4 separate regions of the Homo sapiens genome follow, and all the other regions are linked to region 2. The links are contacts of gene promoters, found by promoter capture Hi-C in blood cells and fetal thymus (Javierre and others, 2016). All regions are on one chromosome and are shown on one strand. Each heading gives the region's core, a stretch centred on a gene start or on the middle of the fragment in contact. The rest is flanking DNA. Distances are from core to core; before and after follow the strand shown.

Region 1 (6,320 bases), core at 3,623-6,122, 190 kb after region 2:
GTGGTGGCATGTGCCTGTAGCCCCAGTTACTCAGGAGGCTGAGGTGGGAGGATCACTTGAGCCCAAGAGGTGGAGGCTGCAGTGACCCAAGATCGCACCACTGCACTCCAGCCTGGGCGACAGAGCGAGACCTTCTCTCGCTAAAAAAAGAAAGAAAAATGAAAATGTAGAGAATGGTATGACTCATGTTTCTTCAGGATTTTCACATTAGGTACCAAGGCACTACATAACTTCACTCTAGAATTTGCTAAGAGTGCAGATGTCCTGTTTGCTGACTGAATAGGCCTACTATTCACATACCAAAACTGGGATAAGCAAGTTTGAGAATAAGCCTTATCACCCAGACCTCTCCTTTTTTAATTTGTAGCTTCCATTTGCATAATCAGTGCTAAAATCCTTTTTTCTGAATAGGTACACAACAGAAAGGCAAACATTCAAAACAGTACAGAGTAAGAATGTAACATAAAATACTAAGAGTGAAGTTTCTTAATTTCAGCACTACTGACATTTTGGACCATATACTTCTTTGTTAGGCAGAACTGTCCTGGGCATTATAGAATATTTAGTAGCACCCCTGGTTTATACTCATTAGATGTCAGTAGCACAACCCCCATCCACCATTCATGATTATCAAAAATCTCTTCAGACATTGCATAAAGTTTCCTGGGAAGCAAAACCGTTTCCAGTTAAGAACCACTTCTTTAGAGAACTGTGATAAAACTCTATCATAACATAAAGATAAAATGATAATACAAGTAGGATTATGTAGTCTCCAATTTTCTGAAATTACTCACAACCTCTTAGTATTTTTCAGATTTAAAAATTCTTGGCTCTCGGCTGGGTGCAGTGGCTCATGCCTGTAATCCCAGCACTTTGGGAGGCCGAGGAGGGTGGATCACAAGGTCAGGAGATTGAGACCATCCTGGCTAACATGGTGAAACCCCATCTCTACTAAAAATACAAAAAAATTGGCCGGGCGTGGTGGTGGTCGCCTGTAGTCCCAGCTACTCGGGGGGCTGAGGCAGAAGAATGGCGTGAACCCGGGAGGCAGAGCTTGCAGTGAGTCGAGATCGCGCCACTGCACTCCAGCCTGGGCGACAGAGTGAGACTCCGTCTCAAAAAAAAAAAAAAAAAAAAAAAAAAAAAAAATATATATATATATATATATATATATTCTTGACTCTCACAATTTCTATATGTCTAGATATCCACACCACTGTGATACTTTTCATATATTCCCTCAAGAATATAACATTAAAAGTCACAATACTCTCAAAACTGTGTTTCTTCTGTACCCTCTCATAATTTACCCAAACGTACACTTCACTTCTCCATAAAAACCTTTAATGTTAAGATTTCACATCTCAGCAATCTGAATAATTTAAAATGAACAGACTTCTGACCAAGGCAAATTAAACTTTCACTTCTCCATTAGAAAAAAACAAAGCCAGACTAAACAGAGAGAGCATGTTAGGTGTTTCCATAGTTTTTTTTACTTCTAATGGTGAAGTTCATCTATGATTTAAATGCCAAAAGGCTAATTTAATCGATTTTAAGTGATCTCATATCTGCAATCAATATGAAATATAATTTAGATGAGAAAAACAGGTATTGGGTTTCTACAATTAACTTGAAATTAACATTACCAAAATTCAGCTTTGGTATTTAAGACAGAAATAGATAAGTTTATTAAAGTATAATTTTTAATACTTACTATCTAATTTTTGTCCTTCTGTAAAAGTTTCTAGGGCAGCAGCATAGTTTTTTTCATGGTATTCACATATTCTGCATGAATATATTTAAAACAAATTAAGACACACAAAAAATCTGGAAAATACCTTCTTTCTAAATAAAAAACTTAGTATTTTCTACTGTTGAAAGAAAAAATTTATTTTAAGTGTATGTTAATAAACCTAGAGACTTTCTAATATACTGTTAAGATCTAGTACAATTCCTACTAAAATTCAATTTTAGAACTCACTTCAGAAGGAATCTGACTTTAATTGTACAGACTTGCTTACTCAAAAATATAATTATACAAAGGAATTAAAGAAGTTTCTTAAAGAATAGTTATACTTATCAACAGAAACAAGATGGGATATAAAGTATACAGATATAGCGCTTTCATAGCATTAAATGTAGCCTATTCAGCTTTGCTGAATAGGATGTTGTCCAGTCAATTAAATATAGTAAATTCCAAAAGATTGAAAAAAAAAAAAAAAAAAGCAATGTGAAATCTATCAGTTTCATCTATACCTTGCAAATACTTCAATCATCACTATTTTAAAATTTACTAAGTACAGATCTCCTATCACATACTTTGGTTAACAAAATAATAGAACTATAAGTTGTATTTAAAATTGAATCATATCTCTGCTATATAATGTATAAATACAGAATTTTACAACTTATATAAAGCTTGCAATGAACTCATTCAACAAATTAAATACCTACTATCTATACCAAGCTCAACAAGAAGAGTAGCTACTGCATACCCTTTTCTCAGCATAGCAGTGGAATTATTTGGATTGAGTTCTAGAGACTTCTTTGCATCAGCAACAGCAACTGTGTAGAAAAAGACGGGTTTTTAGTCAGTTATTTATAGATCCTAGCAAATACACACAACATATGAATCAGTTTTAGATTTCTAAGTTTTCAAGTTGGTAGAAATGCCAAATGGTTTTAAATTAGGAAAAGCTAATACAAGATAGAATTCAAATAAATATTACTCTTGTACCTTCCTTTTGGCTTAACATTTAGCTTCCTTCTTAAAGCTCTTCAATGAATACAGCTGTGTCACAAAATTCACCTCCTTGTCTCATTAACATTTTCTATGTAATTTTACTCAAGGTATTCAGTTTTTCCCTATTCAGAAGGTACAAAATACAGAAATACATTACTTTTTAAATACAGGTGGTCTTGTTATGTTGCCCAGGCTGGTCTTGAACTCCTGGGCTCAAATGATCCTCCTGCTTTGGTCTCCCAAAGTGTTGGGATTACAGGCGTGAGCCACCATGCCTGGCCACATTCTTTTTTATAAAAAAAATTTAAACGAGCATTTCATTTTAATAGTCTGTCAAATAGTAAATGTGATGCTATTTTTTATCAGCATACCCAATAACTATGAATGAAATCTGTATACATTCTCCACCCAATGAAGGAAAAAGCGACATCCATAAAATTTAAATGGGTGTTGCTCAACATGTCTGTCACATTTGAGCTACTTTACCTTGTATAAAAGACCAATTTAAAAATTCTCAAAGACAACTTTTAATTTGTCATGGGTAAAATGTATAAGTAACTTATTAAAAGGGGGCAATATACTTTATAAGAAACGTTACCACAGTAATTCCCAAGAAGAATGTGACAATAAGCTCTTTGACAATAATACTGTGCATCATCTGGTTTCTGTTCCAAAGCCTTAGTCAGCTCCTACAAAAACAAACATGTGGAGCGTCAGTAAAAGTTTGTAAGAAGCCATCAAATTCTAATTAAAACATAATTTTTAATCAAGTAACTTATTGTCAGAAGCTATTTGGAGGAAAGATAACACGGATATAATATTGGAGTTTTTCCTTATAAAAGGATCAATATCTCCCCCACTTCTCTTGCCCCTCCTCCCAAAAGTAGGCAATCTAATGTAGCATCTCTGTACCGTAAAGCTTTTAGTTCCTGGTCTATAGAACTTAATAAATGATCATTATTATCAGCTCATATATTCTGAAGAGTTTAATTGTTACACATTGACCATTACAGATTTCCTCCTACTAATTTGAAGAAGATTCAAACACCATATAGAATTTGAGATTCCTAGAAAATGTTAAGCTGTGCAATAAAAAAAGACCAGAAGTTAAATCTAGCACTCAGGGAGGTTAAGACAATCAATACATACACAATCAAGTGTACCTGGCCCTCTCCTAGCCTCTAACAATAGCACACAACTCTAATAAAACCCAACTAAATATTCTGTTCAAAGCCCAGATACAATCTAATAGATGGCTATGTCAACTACCAAGAGTTAACATTAGAGATTGAAACTTTTTTAACTTGTGCAGTCACAACATATAGGTGTGGTAGCTGGAAAAATAATGATGTAAGAGATTACACAATTAGGGAGATCAAAGACAAGTGCAGGAACACTTTTATTTTCTGCCAACTGCCTACAAACTCTAGGGATTTGGTAGTTTTCTTAAATGGTAAAATTATTTCAAGAGCCACATGTATCATTGACTTTGCTTTAACCTAGTAGTGTGACTCTCAGAAAGCAACATATACAGATGCTCCTCAACTCACATGGGGTTACAGTCAATCAACAGAAAGTAAGGCTCAAATCAAGAGAGCAAAGAAGCTGTAAGATGCTACTTTAAGGGCCTCACTTTGTAGCTTGCAGGCAGTTATAAGGAATTTGGACCTTACGTTTGATGGAAAGCCATGGAAAGTTCACTGTTAGTAAGGGGAACATGGTCCAATTTACTTTTTTTTAATGTCATTCTGGCTGCAGTATGGTAAATACATTATCAAATCAAGACTGGAAACGGAGACTTCTTAGGAAACTATTACATTAAGTCTAGGCTAGAAAAGGATGTTAGCCACAGAGGTGATGAAAAGAAATACGATTAAGTTGGAACATATTAGAAGCAGAGAGACTTGCTAATGGGTGAACATGTGGGATAAGAGAAACTGAAGATGACTCCAGGGTGTTGGGCTTGCCTAGATCTGTATGTGACATCCAGTAATCACTCAATGAAAAGTATTGATTTTTCTTCTTGCAGACTTTTTTCAGCCTTTTCCCCAGTCTCTACTTTGACTGCATCTCCTTTGCCATAGAATACAAAAATATTTGCCTCTCTAGTCTTAATCTTCTCAAAGTCACTAATAACCCCTTATAAAATCCAACTGATTCCTATCTGACTTGATCTCTCTGTGGCCCTTGACAATAATAACCAGGCCTTTCAGCTTACCATTCTGCTGCCTCTTAAAAACTAATGTTCTCCTTGGGCTCAGTACTTAAGACTTCTTCCCCTCTACAAACATTCTTTGATTCCTTAACTACTGGGGGGCTTCACATATGTGTTGATGCATGCTGATGACTCAAGTCTATCTTGAGCCTAGACAGTGGTCCTGGGCAACATCAGCATATAGTTTTCTCTAAACTTTACCTGAAATGTCCCAGAGGCAACTCATATACAAATATTCACAATCTAAAACTACTTTCTATCCTCAAACCTATTCCCCCATGCTGAAGGCAATCTTCTAAGTGCTATCATCCTAAGTGCTATCTAAATGAATGGCACCAGTTCCTACAACATTCCCCCAGCCAGAAACTCAGGAGACATCCCTTATATTCTAATCGTCACCAAGTCCGGTGCATTTTACATAAAACAACTCACCTCCATGCCCTCAATCACTGCCCTACATGCAAATATTCATCTTTGACCCGGTCTGCACTACCATCTTCCTGCTATCCACTATCCCTTGTGCCTCCTCCAATTCGCTATCTACTCTGCTTTTAAAGTAGGTTTTGTAATTCAGAAAATTTCATTTTCCTTCCTCCAAATTCTTGACGGATCTCCATAATCATATGATAAAACTGAAAACCCTGTGCTGGGATTTAATGCCTTTGATGGCCTGGCCTCACTGTCGCCTGGGCTGGAGTGCAATGGCGCGATCTCAGCTCACTGTAACCTCCACCTCCAGGGTTCAAGTGATTCTCCTGCCTCAGCCTCGCAGGTAGCTGATTACGGCTGCCCACCACCATGCCCGGCTAATTTTTTGTATTTTTAATAGAGACGGGGTTTCACCATGTTGGCCAGGCTGGTCTCGAATTCCTGACCTCGTGATCCGCCTGCCTCGGCCTCCCAGAGTGCTGGGACTATAGGCGTGAGCCACCGCGCCCGGCTGCACTTCTAATGAATTGCCAGGTGATGCTGATAATGCTGGTCCAAGAGCCATACATTAAAAACCAAGGTACTAATACTAGCCACATGACTATCCTAGGCAATTCTTCTCCTAGGTACATACAACCAAAAGAAATGCATGTGTTCACCAAAATACATGTACAAGAGTATTCACAGAAGCTTTTTGTTAGCTAATAACTAGAAATAACCCAGATGTCCACTGTTAGAATAAATTGCGCCGTACTTACGGCTATACAACATATATTTATACAATGGAATATTACACAGCAATGCGAAAGAACTACTACTTCACACAATATGAATGTATACTTATGTAATCATTAAAGCAAAAAGAGTGTCTACATTCAATAAAGCACCTACTGTATGATTCTGTTTATGAGTCAAGAACAAACAAAACTAACT
Region 2 (6,215 bases), core at 2,498-4,997:
GAAAAAAAAAGAATTTGGAGTGTAGAAAACAGCTTGGTTGCATTTCTAGTGCACCAACCCCAGAAAACCCAGAGGCTTCAGAATTTGATGAGATTTTTGCAAAGTGTGTTTTCACTACAAAAATGAATTAGATGCCCCGAAGAGCTTCCTCTGTTCTTTGCTTGGCCAAGCACTTGCTGCAAACTTCCCTGAGGGGTTTACCCAATGGTGAGCCTGTAGGAGGAAAAACCAGGGCCCTGGGCTTATTTTTAAAGGAAAAAAAAAAGTAAAAGTTTAAAAAATAACCCCTCTTCATCCATCCTTAGAATTACACTTTCCAGTGAAGTCTAGTACCCTTTCCTGGTAGATATAATCCTAATTAAAAATAAATTACATGCTGTATAGAACTTGAAATGGACAAGATAATCCTATTACATATGAGAATATATCCTGATTTTCTTTCCCGCTAAACTGTGGGAGATATCAGATCAGTCTGAGCCCCCCATTGTCGCCTCTTTGAAAACTTTCCTGGAGCCCTAATCCATCACGTGACGCCCATGTCAATCTTGGTGTTTGCACGCGAGTTTCACAATGCCGGCATTAGGCTCGGTAACAGAAACCCAGCTTTGCGGAGCCCGCAACATTTGCATTCCGAGAAAACGCCGGCCATTGTGGAGCTGTGTTTGTTCTCAAGATTGCGAGACAGTTGCCGGCGAAGTTGCTAAAACCGAGAGAAAGGGGCTCCTTTGGGCCTGCCCAGACCTTTTGGTATGATAACAAGGCGATTCGAGCGGCTTTTGTGAGGCCTGATCAGCACCCGGGCGGGCGAGCTCCCCTCCCTTTCCCCTACTCCTCTCCAGCGCCACCTCCCCGGACATATTTTCCTTCCCGGGGAGTTGCTGCGGACGTTGATGTGCTATTTTAAATCGTATTTCCATAATCGAGTGGCTGTCCGCTGCCGGCCCGGAGCTCACGGTGTTCGCGTGCCTTCACACCTCCACCGCCGGCACGGAAAGACCTGTGCGCGCCGGTGGCGGCTGGAGGCTCGCGGCTCCCTTCCCGGGCTCCCCGGCTCCCAGCTCTCAGCCTCCCGGCGCCGCCGCCGTCGTGGCTACTTCCGATCGACGAGGGCCTGGCCGCGGAAAAAACACTTTAGACCTGCTACCAGCCACCCTACACCCCTCCTCCCGCCTCCTGGCTTTTGCCTGCCCCTACTCCCCTTTCCTTTTCCCACTTTCAAGCACGCCTTGGTTTATTTCAGCCTTGAGAATGAGCATGCTGACGCGGAAGCACTTTGAGTAGAAATTGCAAGTAGTTCCGAATCTCTGGCCAAGCGAAAAACCCAAACTTAGCGCGTGGCGGGGCTCCCGAGTCCAGCCCAGAACTGCGGGGTGCAGATGCGCAGGGGGCGCTGGCGCGAGGTCCGGGTCCCAGCCATTCGCGGCCGGGCTGTGCTCGCGGAAACCGCTGAAATCCCTTCCTTTGGGACTCCGGCCCCATTTCCACCCACTTTCCCCACCTTCCGGGTCCTCCGCCCGGCAGCAGCAGCGCCAGGCGGGCCTGACCTTGCCCTGGGTACGCCAGCGGAAGCGCTGAGGCCGCTGTCCACCAGCCAAGTTCTGAACCTGTTCCCGTCTGGGTCTCCGGGGGAAGAGGGGTGAGGAGAGATGACGTTAGCCTAGGGGCGCTAAAGGTCACCAGCCAGCCCCAGGTTGGGGTGGGAGTGTTGCGGGGCTCGGAAGGAAAATAGAAAGTTCCTTCGACTGCGTGTACCCCCCAAGGAATATCTCTTGGGCGGGGACGGTGGGAGGGCTACATACTAAATCGCACTTGGGAGATGGAAGACAGCGGAAGAAAGGGCTGCGATTTGGGCTCCTGTAGGGGGCGCTCCTCCTTCCACGTCCCCACGCGGCTGCAGATGCCTGGCCTTATTGCTTTTAGCATTCCCAAGACTACAAGGTGGAAGAGGTGGAGAAGGGAACCCAGAGACACACCCCTCTGAGGAAGTCTCCAGCCACTCATCATCCCCCTCCCCAGTCTTATAAGAGCTTGTATTTATGGATGGCTGGAGCTGCATGTTCCGCTCTCTGACAATTCCAAGCACCTCTCATCCCTGCCACCCAGCTCCCTGCTTGGTCTCCCTACTCCAAGGAAACTCCTGACCCTCTTCTGAAAAAAAACCCAAAACACACTCCCTCGAGTTTGAGGGAAAGGAAAACATGGATAGGACGCTGACAGCAGGACCAAAATCGGGATTCTGAAGAATGTTTACTGAATTCAATCTACTTACCAAACCTATCGCCTAAAAAGAAAAATTTCTTCCAGTGAGTGGCTTTTGTTTTTTACCTTTCCTCCTTCGTGTGTATTTGCATAGCCTGCTCAATAAAGCCCTTCAGTAAGAATCATTAAGAATCCGTCTTGTTGCAGATCCGAGCTCCATCTCCCTGGCCGTCAGGGATGGGAGGGGGCTATCTGTGGGGCAGCGCAGCGCCCGGCCAGCCCCAGGATCCGCCCAGCCCAGATTTTGGCAGTGCCGAAGCTCCACACTTTCCTAAGCAGATGGTTAAGTTCCCCCCACGTTCCTGCCAGGTTTCAACGTCACGCTGTGATTTTGTTCTTCTGGAACCGGACGAGTGTTGCTTCCCAGAGTGGCCCTATTAGAACAGAAAGAAAATCCTCTAAATAGGCGGAACAAGGCATCAGGAGGAAAAAGTTCTCTAAATGCACTTTAATACGAGCCGGGTATTGTGTGGAATTCAGCGCCCATCACCGTTTAGCCGGAGAGTTATGGCAGTGATTGGGGATGAATAGAGGAACATAATGGATACATGTGGCGTTTGCTCATTATATTCAAGTTAGTCCAACTCCGCTGTGGAAACTGTTCAACTTTCTCTCCCCTTAGCTTGTCACAGTGAAATAATACAGACATTGGGGCCTCCAATGGGATCGCCTGCCACACCATTCTATTTCCACTGCTAACGAGGGCTTCATAAGCCTTTGATACAGTCTGATCTTTGAAACCTTTCCAAATCTCCTCAAGCTTATGCTAAATCCTATTTGGAACTTTTTTTTCCTTGCCTGCTAGCTCCCAGGGCTTAAGAAGGCCACTTGGACAGTGACGTGCATACTAACATATCGCGGGGCTCTTTTCTGAAAGGGAAGTGGCAGCTCTGATCACTGGGGCTCACACGAGCAAAACACAATTGAGTACACAAATTTGAATAAAATCAATTTTCCCTTATCCTTCAGGCTTCTTAATCGAGAGGCTATTCCAGGCACCGTAGCTAGGAGAGAAGGAAAGCAGAGCCTCATTCAGCAGAGCAAGTCTGTGGGTAGGGGGCTGCAAGGGTTTGGAAGCGTCAGAGGTGCAAAATGCAGAGTGTGTGTGTTGGCAGGGGCTGGGGGAAGGCGGAATCAGGAGCCACTGGGGTGAAACCCCAGCGTGTTCGCACTTAGTTCTAGCCGCGGCACGGAGGGAGGCAGGCGACAATTAACAAAACCATCCGCTCCTTTTACTCCTGGAGCCCTGTGCCAACTCCTCTACATGCAGGGTGCTGACAAGAAAAGGGGGAAAAAGCAAAAGGAGTTAAACAAAAGAAAGATTCCCTAATTTTCCTTTCTTGTTTTCCCCTCTAAGCCTTTCCACATTAAAGGGATTGTCAGAGGCAGGCGGAGGGGCGACGCGAGGGGGAGGCGGCCATTGGCTACCCGGCTCGGGTGATTAGCATATCGGCGGCTATAAAGGCAAAGGCGGCGCGAGGCGGCGCAGCTTCTGTAAGAGACGGAGAGGCGCAGAGTGAGGGCGGGTCCGCGCGTCCTCAGAGCCCGCTGGAGGCTCGGAGCTGCTACCCGCAGACTTCTCCCGCACAGGGCTCGCAAAGAGCGTGATTCCGAGAGCCTGAGACTGACGCCCGACCTGGAAACCAGAGAAGACTTCCTTAGCCTTTCGGATCGCACTTGAGGCTGGAGGCATGAGTCCTGTGAGGCGTTGGGGCAGCCCCTGCCTTTTCCCCTTGCAGCTCTTCAGCCTCTGCTGGGTGCTCTCAGTGGCCCAGAGCAAAACAGTCCGATACAGCACCTTCGAGGAGGATGCCCCCGGCACGGTCATCGGGACCCTGGCCGAGGACCTGCATATGAAAGTATCGGGTGACACAAGCTTCCGCCTGATGAAGCAATTCAACAGCTCTCTGCTCCGGGTGCGCGAAGGCGACGGGCAGCTGACCGTCGGGGACGCCGGCCTGGACCGCGAGCGGCTGTGTGGCCAGGCCCCGCAGTGCGTGCTGGCCTTCGATGTGGTCAGCTTCTCGCAGGAGCAGTTCCGGCTGGTGCACGTGGAGGTAGAGGTGAGGGACGTCAACGACCACGCGCCGCGCTTCCCCAGGGCCCAGATCCCGGTAGAGGTGTCCGAGGGTGCGGCAGTGGGCACGCGCATCCCCTTGGAGGTGCCGGTGGACGAGGACGTGGGCGCCAACGGGCTGCAGACCGTGCGCCTGGCCGAGCCGCACAGCCCCTTTCGCGTGGAGCTGCAGACGCGAGCGGACGGCGCTCAGTGCGCAGACCTGGTGCTGCTGCAGGAGCTGGACCGCGAGAGCCAGGCCGCCTACAGCCTGGAGCTGGTGGCCCAGGACGGCGGCCGCCCGCCGCGCTCCGCCACGGCTGCCCTCAGCGTGCGCGTCCTGGATGCGAATGACCACAGCCCGGCCTTCCCGCAGGGCGCCGTGGCCGAAGTGGAGCTGGCGGAAGACGCGCCCGTGGGCTCCCTGCTTCTCGACCTGGACGCAGCCGACCCCGACGAGGGACCTAACGGCGACGTGGTGTTCGCATTTGGCGCCCGCACCCCGCCGGAGGCGCGCCGCCTCTTTCGGCTTGACCCGCGATCAGGCCGCCTCACCCTGGCCGGGCCCGTGGACTACGAGCGTCAGGACACCTACGAGCTGGACGTGCGGGCGCAGGACCGCGGACCCGGGCCCCGCGCTGCCACCTGCAAGGTCATCGTGCGCATCCGAGACGTCAATGACAACGCACCCGACATCGCCATCACCCCGCTGGCCGCCCCAGGCGCGCCGGCAACCTCACCCTTCGCCGCTGCCGCCGCCGCCGCTGCACTCGGGGGAGCGGACGCTAGCTCGCCGGCGGGAGCCGGGACGCCGGAGGCTGGTGCCACTTCGCTGGTGCCGGAGGGGGCGGCGCGCGAGAGCCTGGTGGCCCTGGTCAGCACCTCGGACAGGGACTCGGGCGCCAACGGGCAAGTGCGCTGCGCCCTCTATGGGCACGAGCACTTCCGGCTGCAGCCGGCCTACGCGGGCAGCTACCTGGTGGTGACCGCGGCGTCGCTGGACCGCGAACGCATCGCCGAGTACAACTTGACGCTGGTGGCCGAGGATCGCGGCGCGCCCCCGCTGCGCACAGTGCGGCCCTACACGGTGCGTGTGGGCGACGAGAACGACAACGCGCCGCTCTTCACGCGGCCGGTCTATGAGGTGTCGGTGCGCGAGAACAACCCGCCAGGCGCCTACCTGGCCACGGTGGCCGCCCGCGACCGGGACCTGGGCCGCAACGGCCAGGTCACCTACCGGCTGCTGGAGGCCGAGGTGGGCCGCGCCGGGGGCGCCGTGTCCACTTATGTCTCGGTGGACCCAGCTACCGGAGCCATCTACGCGCTGCGCAGCTTCGACTATGAGACGCTGCGCCAACTCGACGTTCGCATCCAAGCTAGCGACGGCGGCTCCCCTCAGCTTTCCAGCAGCGCCCTAGTGCAAGTGCGCGTGCTGGACCAGAACGACCATGCGCCAGTCCTGGTGCACCCGGCGCCAGCCAATGGCTCCCTAGAAGTGGCGGTGCCTGGGCGCACCGCAAAGGACACGGTTGTGGCCCGTGTGCAGGCCCGGGATGCAGACGAGGGAGCCAACGGGGAGCTGGCGTTCGAGCTGCAGCAGCAGGAGCCGCGCGAAGCCTTCGCCATCGGCCGCCGCACGGGGGAGATACTGCTCACCGGCGACCTCTCGCAGGAGCCACCCGGTCGCGTGTTCAGGGCGCTCCTGGTCATATCCGACGGCGGCCGTCCCCCGCTCACCACCACCGCAACTGTCAGCTTCGTGGTAACAGCAGGGGGCGGGCGTGGGCCGGCTGCGCCTGCCAGTGCAGGAAGCCCGGAGCGTTCCCGCCCGCCTGGCTCTCGGCTCGGGGTGTCCGGGTCGGTGCTGCAATGGGACACGCCGCTGATCGTCATCATCGTG
Region 3 (6,536 bases), core at 3,304-5,803, 150 kb after region 2:
TCAGCATCTCTCCTCTACCTTTTAATTTCTGTGTTAAGAGGGAAACAAAACCTTCAAAGGAGCAAGCCAAGTAGCTTTTCCTCTTCTCTAAACTTTACTGGAAATAAGGCATTAGAGGTGATTAGTGCTAATCTCACTTCTGTTCTCTCCTTTACTCCTTGACATCACTGTGTTCTACATGCAGTCCTCCAGGTCACCTGCTTCAAAACCATCAGTTCATTCAAAACAAAGATTTACTGGACCCTCTCTCAAAGGTACTGATTCAAAATCTCAGGAGGAAAGTAATGAAGGTCTACATTTTTAAAAATAAGCTTCCCAAGTGAAGGTTACTCACCAATAAGCTTAAGAACCACTACCCTATATATCATACAAAATAGCTGCCCAATGTTATAATTTTAGTTGTCCGATATCAGAATGTCAGCAGAGGATTAGGGCAAATCAGCTAAGCATGGTGGCTCACGCCTGTAATCCCAGCACTTTGGGAAGCCAAGGCAAGAGGATTACTTGAGGCCAGGAGTTAAGAGAGCAGCCCGGGCAACACAGCAAGACCCTGTCTCTACAAAAAAAATTTAAAAATTAGCTTAGTGCACTAGTAGTGCAGTCCCAGCTACCTGAGAGGCTGAGGCAGGAGGATCACTTGACTCCAGGAGTTGGAGGTTACAGTGAGCTATTGTGTGCCTGGACAGCAGAGCAAAACCCTGTCTCTTAAAAAAAAAAAAAAAAAAAAGATTAGGATAAATAAGTTTTAAGAGAGAGTCTATCACCAACGATCTGAGTGAGTTACATTAAAAACCTGTATGAAGAAAAAAGTATATGAGATGACAGCACTCTGGAAAAAGTGCATCTGTAAAACCAAACGTTTGGACTACATAGTATTTAAGATCCATTCCAGCTCCAAAATCCTGACTTCGTTTTTGTCTCCTCATACTGACAGTGGATGAAATGCAAATACATGTTTGCATTCCAGGGAATAAGAGGTTCCAAAGCTACCTCTAGTCTTGTCAGATGGCCCATAAAAACATGCTCTGTTGATCTGATTTTAACAACTCTAAAATAAAATCCTATGCTACACATATTCCTAAGTCCCTGTTCACAACCGGTCATTCTCCAATCTTGCCTTGGTACTTATTCTGCTGTAACTGTACTTATATTCCAGAACAAGAAATAGCTTTGCTAAACAAAGATTAGACTAACATATGCTATTACCTATAGTTTAATGTGTTAAGGAATAAACGGCAGACATAAGTTGAGTATTCAGGCTGAGGGCTTCTTTCCACCACCACAAGCTAAGCTCCATGAAGGCAGGGAATTTTGTTTACCTAGTACCTAGCACCTAGCTCAGTGTCTGATGCGTATTTGGCAATCAATGAATATTTGCTAAGTGCATAAATGAATGAGTGGATGTCATGAACCAAGTTCTTTTTCAGATACCTATATTATTCTACTACATACCTTAAAGTAAAGGCTCACTCAAAGAAAAAGTGTATGGCTTTTGACTGCAAAGACTTGAAGGGCCTCAACGGTGTTGATACTGTTTAAAAATAAAGTATACAACCCTCATCAAAGAGGGTTTTCTAGTACTCAGTATCTCAAAATTTCTTCAGGGATTCCAGAAAAAAAATGGACACGTGAGCAATTCAAACTTTTGTCTCCAAGAAGATTGGTATGCTTATAAATTGACTCACTCTTTGTTTCCATATTGCTACATATGCTCAAACCTAATTCCACTCCTGGCTTTTAAGATCTGGCCTCTCCTGTACTCTCCCCAAGACATTTGGGCTCATAATTTTGTATGAATGGAGGGCTAACCTAGTTAGAAAGTAAACTTCAGTCCGTTCAATTAAAACACAAAACAAAACAAAACAAAAAACAGCCGGGCACAGTGGCTTACGCCTATAATCCCAACACTTTGGGAGGCCAAGGTGGGAGGACTGCTTGAACCCAGGAGTTTGAGAGACCAACCTGGGCAATGCAGGGAGACCCCATCTCTACACAAAATTTAAAAATTAGCTGGGAGTGGTGGCACACACCTGTAGTCCCAGCTACTCAGGAGGCTGAGGAAGGAGGATTGCTTGAGCCCAGAAGACGGAGGCTGCAGTGAGCTGCGACCATGCCATTACATTCCAGCCTGGGCAAGAGCAAGACCTTATCTAAAAAAATAAAAAATAAAAATAAATAAATAAAATAAATAAAATAAATCAGGACACCCCTCCAAAAAATGGTATCTCAAAATTAAATAGCAAAAAAAAAAAAAAAAAAAAGTACTTGGATATCACACTGGTTTTGATTAGTTATATAACTGTTACTACCTCTAACAATGTAGTTAAAATTAGCTCTCGTGGCTGTGGGTTAAAAACCTACTTAAAAATTAAAATCCTGTCAGAAACGGTGGTGCACGCCTAGTCTCAGCTACTCAGGAGGCTGAAGTGAGAAGATCACTCGAGCCCTGGACTTTGAGGCTGTAACACACAATTATCACGCCTGTGAACAGCCACTGCACTCCAGCCTGAGCACCACAGCAAGACCTCATCTTTTTGAAAACAAATTACTATTCTATTTACATTGACAAATAAATGATCAACTTTAAGGGCTTGACATTTTTAAAAAACCCCAATTTTAAACACTATGGTTTGGGATGAGTAACTTCCAATATTTGAGTACATACTATGTGAAAGGCACTACGCTATGTATCAAAGATCCAAAGCTTAAGTAAATAACACTAACTGACCAAGACACACAAGGTAAAACAGACACAGCCGCAACTAACCCTATAACATGTGACACCATGAAGGTGTCATAAATAGAGGCATAAACAAGGCACTCCCACATCACAACTAGAGTGGCAATGCATTTCAGTAGAGGGCATGGAGAGGGGAGTTCCACAAGAGTACTGACATTTTAATTGAGATCTCATAGAATGAATGGAAGAAAATAAGGGCATTCTGTGCAGTGATAAGACCATGAGCAAATCCATCCAATTCTGGGAGCCTGTTCTCTATGTACCAGGTGCTACACATACAAAGATGGAAGCTAGACCGCGCCCTCAAGAAACTCAGTCACACGGGGGAAGAAATGAACCAACTGTAATGTACTGGTCTGACAAACAAGGAATAGATTAGCACTCTCAAGCATGCTCATGACATGTTGTGGTTTTGGTATGACTCCATCAAAGGATCCAGTGATGTCTCAACCATAAGCAAATAACCCAATCCAATGCCACAAAAGTCAGTAACAGAGTTGCAAAAGATTAGACTGCTTTCCTGGAGGTAGCATACAAACTCAGTTTTGACACATCAGTAGGAAACTGGAGATGCCCAGGAGGGGCAGAAAAAGGAATGAAAATACACGACATATTCAGAAACAGCAGATGTCTGAACACTAAAAACAAAGAATATGCAATAGACTGTAAGTGCCCTTTGCAGAAAAAGTTTGACCATGACTAGAAGATTCTTGTGTGTCTGGGAGCTTTAGTACACAGCAAAGCAGTGACAAGAGATGTGGCCAAAAATTTTGGCTGGGGTTGAATTCTGAAAACTCTTGAATAGCAGGTAAATGCCAGACTCACCCTCCTTTGAAGAATTTCAACACTAAACAGGACTGAGGGGAAAAAATAAATCAAGGACTTTACATTTAAGTAGCATTTATTGGTAACATAATTTGAGTCAGGACTTAGTTATTAAATCCTCACAATCCTGAGGGTTAATTATCATCCAGTGTTATAAAAAAGAAAAAAGTTCAGATAAGTCACTTGCCCTCAAAACACACAATTATGAAAGTATCAGAACTGGGATTTTAAGAGTCTAGATTCATAAGTTACTACTCCTTCCATTACAAAACAACACCTGTCTCTGTGGTGAAGTATAATTTTTTAAAGTCAATTGTTTTGAAATAGCAAAATAATAACAATAATAAAGGAAATGCACTCAATTTCTTAAGCATGTTTCATCCCCCACTGGATATATATCCTCAGCCTAAGCTCATTACTTATGAATGTGTTCACTTTCAGTCACTTCAAGCCACAGAAAAAGTTTAGAAAACAGATAATCAGTAAAAAGTGGTAGTTGTGAGAACTCCCAGCTGACAGTGAGCCCATATTAATGTCTACACACTTGTATATGCTCCACACTGATTCATTTGGGGCAAGAATAATAAGATTGATGAATTAACTCATAAAAACATCTACCAGCAGGCTGGGCATGGTGGCTCACGCCTGTAATCCCAGCACTTTGGGAGGCCGAGGCGGGCGGGTCACAAGATCAGGAGATGAGACCATCCTGGCTAACACGGTGAAACTCTTGTCTCTACTAAAAATACAAAAAATTAGCCGGGCATGGTGGCGGACGCCTGTAGTCCCAGCTACTTGGGAGGCTGAGGCATGAGAATGGCGTGAACCGGGAGGCGGAGCTTGCAGTGAGCCAAAATGGCGCCACTGCACTCCAGCCTGGGCGACAGAGCAAGACTCCGTCTCAAAAACAAAAACAAAAACAAACACAAACAAATATCAGCTTCTTTTCACTGATGGGAATAACAAGACAATCTGTGGTTTATAAACTGCGTGATTTTGTACCTTGTATTTTTCACAAATCCTAATAGTTTTACCTTCTGTTTTGAGCTTTGAAATTGAAATGAAAACCAGAGAACTTCCGAAAGTTCCTTAACATTCTACATCTAGTTTATATTTTCTGCCACTATTTTATTTTACGATTCTTTATAAAGTGCTGACAATACTTACATAATTAAGCTCTGTTTAAGTAAAATTATTAAAAACTTTTCATGAATTCTTATGCTCTCCAAAGTACAAATTTTATAAATTACAGTAACAATTGTTAACTAGGTGATATACTTTCCTCAGACAGAATTCCACATCTTGAAAGACTGAACTTACAACACAAAAAAATCTTCTCTAGGATTTCCACCTTCCAGCCTAGGATCATCTGATGTTATCTGTCACATGAAGCACTGCTCTTTGCACTTCACACACATAGATACACAATTCCAAAACCCTCAGATGAGTTTTTGAAGTCAGAATTTTGGATTTTAGAAGATAATGCAATACAGATAGACTATTAATAGTTCCCCTTTATCCATGGTTTTGCTTTCCACAATTTCAGTGACCCACAGTCAACTGCTGTCCAAAAATAACTGTTCACATAAGTTTTATTGCGGTATATTGTATATTCTATTATTAATATCTTACTGTGCCTAATTTATAAACTTTATCATAAGTATACATGTATAAAAAATGTACATACAGCATTCAGTACTGGGGGTCTTGGAATGTATCTGCCACAGTTAAGGGGCAACTGCTGTATTTTGTAACAATTTCAGCAGGATCAGTGCTAGCATTCTATAATTAAACATTTAATATTTCTGCTGCAAAATGTGACTATTCATATTATAAATTCAGGTCACGTTTTATATCACTTGTCATACAGATGCACATGCACACACACACACACACACAAAACATTAGTATTTTGAGCCTTCTGGATTAAGATACCTGTGGAGTTACATGAATTCATTCAACTAAGACCATGAGGCATGAGGGGGATCCTATTATCTCCTTTACATAGACACAAAAACTGAGGCACAGAGACATTAAGCACCTATATCCATTGTCACACAGCTAGTAAGCAATGTAGCCAGGATGATCCCAAACAGGATGGCTTCAGAGTCCATGCATTTAACCACTATGCAATACTGTCTTTTCATGTACTTAACAAAAGCTCTAAATATATATTAATAGTATGCGCAATTGTTTATTATTTAGATCTTCTGTGGCTGCATTATAGGGTACAGTTTTTTAAAAAACCCTATATAGGTATTAAGGACCATTTTCCTAACTCCTTCTAAAGAAACTGAAAATTACCTTTAGGTAAATAGCAGTGTTTCTGAAACATCTTTTTGTATAACTGAATCCTTTAATCATAGGAAAAAATAAAGTCAATGATATAGGTAGAAGTCTCAATGTAAAAATAAAACTAAAAATCCAAATGTGAAGGCATACCAAATATTTAAGACTCCAGACAAGCCAAAATTCAAATATATATATATATACAAAATGCTAACATAAGTTAGGAAAAAGGAAATAACCTGAAATATTCAAATTTTATTGGAGAAATCAGTGATACACAAATCCTAACATGTCTGTAGGAATAAAACCTTGAAACAATCTCAGCATTTGTACAACGGAACTGGTATGAGAGCTCCCAAGTTAAAGGAAAAAAAGAATTTCATTGGCATCATGTACCAGTCTTCTTACACATGCAACAGTTGTTAAAAGTACACTGTTTCTCTGTAATGATCTAGATTTGAGAAAAACAGCACCCTCTCAAAAATCAGACTACTTCTTTGCATTACTTCCAGTATGAGGCAAAAGATTTGGATTCCTAATAAGCTTTCCTACTTAAGAAAGTGAGGATCTCTAGGAATTTATCTTCCCAGCTCCTATATAAGAATTAGTTCTTGGCTGGGCACAGTGGCTCACGCCTATAATCCCAGCATTTTGGGAGGCCAAGGTGGGCGGATCATGAGGT
Region 4 (6,121 bases), core at 1,463-3,962, 220 kb after region 2:
TTAATGTATGTAAATTTTACCTGAAAAAAAAAAGCCATCAATCATTATCAAGTAGGAGATGAAAACTGGGTGAAGGTATATATAATACAAGAATAGTAAAATGTTGATCATTGTTGAAGCTGGGTGACAGTATAAAGGGGTTCACTGTACCATTTTGCGTACTTTGCGTATATTTTAAATTTTTCATAAGAAAAAGCTTTTAAAAGCTTCCTAAATAAATTAGAGCAAGTTAATATAAAAACATCCTATTATGAAAAGAAAGTAAACTGTATACAACATTGTTTCCTTTTTTTTTTTTTTTTTTAAGAGATGGGATCTCAGTATGTCGTGAAGTCTGGCCTCGAAGTCCTGGGTTCAAGCAATCCTCCCACATCATCTTCCTGAGTAGCTTGGACTACAGGCATCTGTCACCATACCTGGCTATTTGCGACATTTTTAAACTCACTGAGAACTGCCATCTCAATAAGTGGGACCCAAATTAATATTTTATTATGCCTGGCTTTCTGTATTATGATCTATTACCTAATATTCAAATTAAAGCTCCCAAATTCCTAAAGTTCTTGGAGAAAGATTTTAAGGACTTAATTGAGATATATATGGAAGATCTAAAATCTGATAGGAATGGAAGAAAAATAGAAGAATGAAAAAAGGGGTTCAGCATGGTGGCTCATGCCTGTAATTCCAGCACTCTGGGAGGCCAAGGAGGGAGGATCGCTTGAGCTCAAGAGTTCAAGACCAGCCTGGGCAAGATGGCAAAACCCCATCTCCACAAAAAGAAAAAAAAAAATTAGCCAGGAGTGGTGGCACATGCCTACAGTCCCAGCTACTTGAGAGGTTGAGTGGAAGGATCACTTGAGCCTGGGAGGTTGAGGCTGCAGTGAGTGATGATTGTTCCACCACACTCCAGAATGGGCCACAGAGCAACACCCTGTCTCAAAAAAAGAAAAAGAAAAAAGGAAATATAATAGTTAAAATGAAATGTACTTTCAGAACTGTTATCTGTGAATAAAGCTTTAACCGTATTCCACATCATTGTTATTTCTTTCATAAACCACTTGTAAACTTCATTTTCAAATTTTAATATATGTATTTGATCAGAGTAGGCACAGAACATAGGTGAATATTCATTTTTCAGAATCATGCATTTCATAACAATAATTTCCTTCATAGTTATAGTCTCTGGCTTTATAATTTATAAAGTTCTAATTAATAAAAATTGTAGGGAGCCTGTGTCATTGAACAAGATAATTTTTACATACAAGGATCTTTCTTCATAGATTTTAACAATGTAATGAGAACTTGTTAAAGTATCTTTCAGGGCTTCGTGGTGGCTCATGGCAGTAATCCCAGCACTTTAGGAGGCCGAGGCAGGTGGATCACCTGAGGTCAGGAGTTCGAGGCCAGCCTGGTCAACATGGTGAAACCCCATCTCTACTAAAACCAAAAAAATTAGCCAGGCATTGTGGAGTGCACCTGTAATCCCAGCTACTCAGGAGGCTGAGGAAGGAGAATCGCTTCAACCTAGAAGGCGGAGGTTGCAGTAAGCCGAGATCACACCACTGCACTCCAGCCTGGGCAAAAAACAGCAAGACTCCATCTCAAAAAAAAAAAAAGTATCTTTTAACAATCTATTCAATCCTGTAATTAAAACTATTTCATGAATACATACTTTTCCCCTTCATAACTTTTTTTTTTATTTTGAGATAGGGTCTCACTCTGTTGCCCATGCTGGAGTGCACTGGCACAATCTCGGCTCACTGCATTGTCCACCTCCCGGGTTCAAGGGATTCTCCCACCTCAGCCTCCCGAGTAACTGCGATTACAGTCCCATGCCACCACACCCGGCTAATTTTTGTATTTTTGTGATAGACACAGGGTTTCACCATGTCGATCAGGTAGGTCTCAGCTCCTAACCTCAAGTGATCTGCCCACCTTGGCCTCCCAAAGTGCTGGGATTACAGGCATGAGCCACTGCTCCAGGCCCCTCGAGAATACTTTTAAATCATCTCTAGATTACTTGTAATACCTAATATAACAAATGCTACATAAGTAGTTGTTATACTGTATTTTTTAATTGGTATTTTTTTCTGTGTTTCTTAAAAAACGTTATCAGAAGTTATCTGTGGATGCAGAACCTACGCATACAGAGGGCCAAATGTATATTACTCCATTCCTATCAATGACATTATCCTTGTTAAGACGGTGTCTCAGAAGTGGTTGTGGTAAAAACAAATATCCTAGGAAAATCAATGTGGAAGAGGGTAAACATGGTAATGTCCAATCTTATTACAAGGCTAGGTCATTAAAAAGAAAATACAACTGGCCAGGCACGGTGGCGTGCCTGTAATCCCAGCACTTGGGGAGGCCGAGGAGGGTGGATCACAAAGTCAGGAGTTCAAGACCAGCCTGGCCAACATGGTGAAACCCCATCTCTACTAAAAATACAAAAATTTGCCAGGCATGGTGGCAGGCACCTGTAATCCCAGCTACTCGGGAGGCTGAGGCAGAGAACTGCTTGAACCCAGGAGGTGGAGATAGCAGTGAGCCAAGACCGCGCCACTGCACTCCAGCCTGGGTGACAGAGCGAGACTCCATCTCAAAAACAAAACAAAACAAAACAAAATACAACTTCCTCTTGGCTCACTTTCTCTTGAGACACCCACCCTGGAACCCAGCCACCATGCGGTGAGAAAGCCCAGGCCACAAAGAAAGCCACATGTAGGTGTTTCTGCTAACACCCTCAGCTAAGGTCTCAGCTGACAGCTGGCATCAACTGCCAGACCTATGAGTGGGCAAACTTCAGATGATTCCAGCCTCAGATTTCTAAGTCTTCCAACTGAGGACCCAGACATCATAGAGCACAGACTGGCCTTCCCCGCTGTGTTCCAGCCAAACTGCTAACCCACAGAATCTGTGAGCATAATGAGTGAATGTTTTATGCCACTAAGTTTGGGAGGTAGTGTAACTATGGTAACCATATCAATGGGGATTTAATATATAATACAAAGAAAGAAAAGCAGGCTATGCATGAAGCTATGATGACAGTGCCTCATGAAGCAAAGATCATGACTCATCTAATCCCATGCATCCTGGAAGTCCTTGAAAAGCGGGGAGGGGAGGCAAAAATCATTAAAAGACACCTTTTAAAAACTCAAAACAGATGCACCTTGTTCACCAGTCTTTTGATGTAGGACCAAAGCCTCTTTTTTAAACACAGGACCACTGATAAAAGGTTCTAAGGCATATATTTTACATACATCACACCCATCCTGCAATATTTTCAATTTTGGTTTAAGTGGAAAAGTGGAGCAAGAATGTGAGATAGCTTACAAAGCAATCTAAGGGTATGATGCTCCTGCGTATGTATATTTGTCTCACTCATGCCTAATTGGAAAGAAATTGTTTACGTGACCTTTACTGACTCTTTCCAAAGCATTCAACTCACTTTACCATTTCTGTAATAGTTAATTAAATTAAAATAAAGGGCATGAGGGGTCATAAACAGGTCTGGTAGCCTTAAAAATGCCATTCTTGATATGTATTTATATGTTTGTGTTATTTACTTCCACATACTTATATGTAACTGTTTTGTTTCTAAAGAGTAGGACGAGGAGGAAGTACCTATTATGGGTACTGATTGTCTGAATTAGCTTACTCTACCACCCAATTATACTTTCCAGAGGTATTTTTGATACCATGTAGAAACCAAGAAGTTCCATTAAAATGTTAAATCATTCTGGAAAACAGAAGCCTATATTATCTGTTTGTTCTGATAAGGGAAGTCAGTGATGGGTATCCTAAAGCCACACACCTTACTACTTGAATTAATGACATCCCTGAAATACATCATTATGTATCATTAAAAAAAAAAACTGCCATTTAACCTACAACACAATGCCAAGATATTACTGATTGCACTTAGAATTAAATACTCTTTTGACAAGCACAAGTAATTACAATGCTCTGAGGAAGCCAGGAAAGCTGAAAGCACGGATAGTTATTGGTCACAGGAAGTCATACAGAGCAGTTGTAATCAACGTGCTAAACTTTATTCCAGAAAAAATTTTTTAAATGGAAAATTTCAAATAAGTGAGTCCTTTACAGACATGAAGCTACCTTCAAATCAAGATGTAAATGATATTGTTAATTAACAGCTTAAAGAGGCAGTTAAGTAGCAGTTAATAACACCAATAAGTATGTAAGAGTGTAGAATTCTCAATGAGATCACTTCTCTCTTCCTTTCACTGGATTGTGTACAGATATCCTCTTGTTATTTAAATATAATACAATTACAGCATTTCTCAAGTAATTATTAGACTCCCTGTGTTTATTAGCTGATATTTTTTTCTTCATTAATTCAATATCTCCCAAGTACTTGTACTAAAAACATTTTTTGCAAAAAGAAAAAGCTTACTGGAATTTTAAAAATTACTTTCAAACAACATTCAAATTACAATTAAATTTACCTCTTCTTTGGAGCATGTCCTAAAGCTCTTTGAGGCCCGCCAGTTGTAGCTTTTAAGTGAACTTCTGTTGGGTGGCTTTGTTGTTTGTACATTTACTGTGCTCAATTCAACTTTCGTGCCCTTAATAATGTCTAACAAGTCTTTTTCTCTGTTTTCCTTTACACTGTCTTGGTTGTCTGAAGTCTCCTTGGAAGTCTCAACAGTTCACACTGCTCAACTTTCTTGCTACAGATAGCGCCGTTAGTGCCAAAATATCTTTGGATATTATTTTTTGTCCTGGAAAGATGCATTAAAGAAAAAAAATGAAAAATACAATGCAGGCTAATAAAGCAAAAAACCGTGTATCTAAATTTTTTTTCAATTCAAGCCCTTTCCATTTGCTTTTTATAATTATTAACAACCATAGCAGCAGCAACTTACCATTTATTAGCACATACTATATGCCTCAACCTCGTGCAATATGTTTTATGCACATTTCTCATACCCACATTAACTCCCTAAGGTCTCCATTTTGCAGATAAGGAAACTGAAAATCAGAGAAGTAACTTACCTAAGGTCATGCACCTCACAGCCCATTAAGGCCTAAGACACACTGGGGTGCCACAAATAAGTAGAGGTATGCTGAGATATTGATCACCTGCTCCTTGGGGTGGCCAGGGGAGGCCTGGGGGTGCTGGTGCTCCCAAATCTGTTCCTTCCCACCATTTACCCCAGAGTTCGGTAGAAAAACTCTGACATGGTTAATAAATGACAATTTATTATTCTCAAACCCAGATCTGACTGACTGCAAGTCCTTGATCTTAACATAACACCTCTTTAAAAAGTTATAATTAAATAATACAAAAATAAATTTCTATCAAAAAGATTACTTTAAAAAAAACTGAGTGGGTCTTGTTTTAATCTGATCAACATTCTCATCAAGCTACATGCCACTTAACCCATAACCACTTGTAAGCTAAGCTAAAATGGAACAGAAAAGAAAATAATCGATGGCTATAAATGTCATTTTTGCTTTCCTCATTAGATACATTTATGAAAGAGAACACCACAAATGATTACATCTATACTAGACTCATGCAAAAGATGTCCTAATTCTAAGTAACTCAAATATCCAGTTTTATTCTGTGGAGTTAAAAACCTCTTTTGGCACTTGATTACTAAAGAACTTTAAAAACTCTTTGAATGTGTTAGTTTCAGTAAGAGGGTATAATATATTTAAAAATCATTCATTAAATATAGTGAATATCTACTCTGTGCTGGGCACTATACTAGGTACTGACAATATATTAGTAAATAAGAATTTCATAGTCCCTACTTATATGAAGCTGATGTGCTACAGCACTGCTTCTCACACTTTAATATATATAGAAATTATTTTTTTTTTTTTGAGACAGGGTCTCGCTCTGTCACACAGGCTGGAGTGCAGTGGCGTGATCTTGGCTCACTGCAGCCTCGACTTCCCCAGGCTCCGGCGATCCTCCCACCTCAGCCTCCTGAGTAGTTGGGACTAATTTTTTGTAGAAATGGGTTTCCCATGTTGCACAGGAACTCCTGGGATCTGCCCACTTAGAACTCCCACCACCCACCTAGGCTTCCCTAAGTGCTGGGATTACATGCCTGGGCCACTGTGCCTGGCCCACAGAAAGTATCTATGC

The links. The method cuts DNA at HindIII sites, captures the fragments that hold promoters and counts their contacts. A CHiCAGO score of 5 or more calls a contact.
Region 1: a contact is called between a fragment that was not itself captured here and the fragment with the promoter of PCDH8 in region 2, in 2 of 17 cell types (endothelial precursors and M0 macrophages). The highest score is 5.6, in endothelial precursors.
Region 3: a fragment that was not itself captured here is called in contact with the fragment with the promoter of PCDH8 in region 2 in 1 of 17 cell types (M2 macrophages); the score reaches 5.4 in M2 macrophages.
Region 4: a fragment that was not itself captured here is called in contact with the fragment with the promoter of PCDH8 in region 2 in 1 of 17 cell types (erythroblasts); the score reaches 5.3 in erythroblasts.

The regions. Positions count from the first base shown.
Region 1 is chr13:52,654,644-52,660,963 of GRCh38, reverse strand. SUGT1 (SGT1 assembly cochaperone of MIS12 kinetochore complex) reads right to left here. Exons shown (of 13, transcript NM_006704.5): 3 at 3,342-3,432; 4 at 2,496-2,565; 5 at 1,715-1,785. Among named protein-coding and RNA genes, the nearest start is that of SUGT1, 5.0 kb to the right of the region's middle. The HindIII fragment of the contact is 2,415 bases long and covers 3,665-6,079 here.
Region 2 is chr13:52,846,172-52,852,386 of GRCh38, reverse strand. PCDH8 (protocadherin 8) reads left to right here and starts at 3,747. Exons shown (of 3, transcript NM_002590.4): 1 at 3,747-6,215. The coding sequence starts at 3,951. RefSeq lists enhancers at 835-1,044, 1,719-2,013, 3,359-3,653, 3,784-4,673, 4,674-5,562. The HindIII fragment of the contact is 1,116 bases long and covers 3,022-4,137 here.
Region 3 is chr13:52,692,640-52,699,175 of GRCh38, reverse strand. SUGT1 (SGT1 assembly cochaperone of MIS12 kinetochore complex) reads right to left here. Exons shown (of 13, transcript NM_006704.5): 13 at 1-6,536. Among named protein-coding and RNA genes, the nearest start is that of SUGT1, 43 kb to the right of the region's middle. The HindIII fragment of the contact is 3,693 bases long and covers 2,707-6,399 here.
Region 4 is chr13:52,620,610-52,626,730 of GRCh38, reverse strand. It overlaps a transcript of HNRNPA1L2 not described here. Among named protein-coding and RNA genes, the nearest start is that of HNRNPA1L2, 19 kb to the left of the region's middle. The HindIII fragment of the contact is 3,398 bases long and covers 1,014-4,411 here.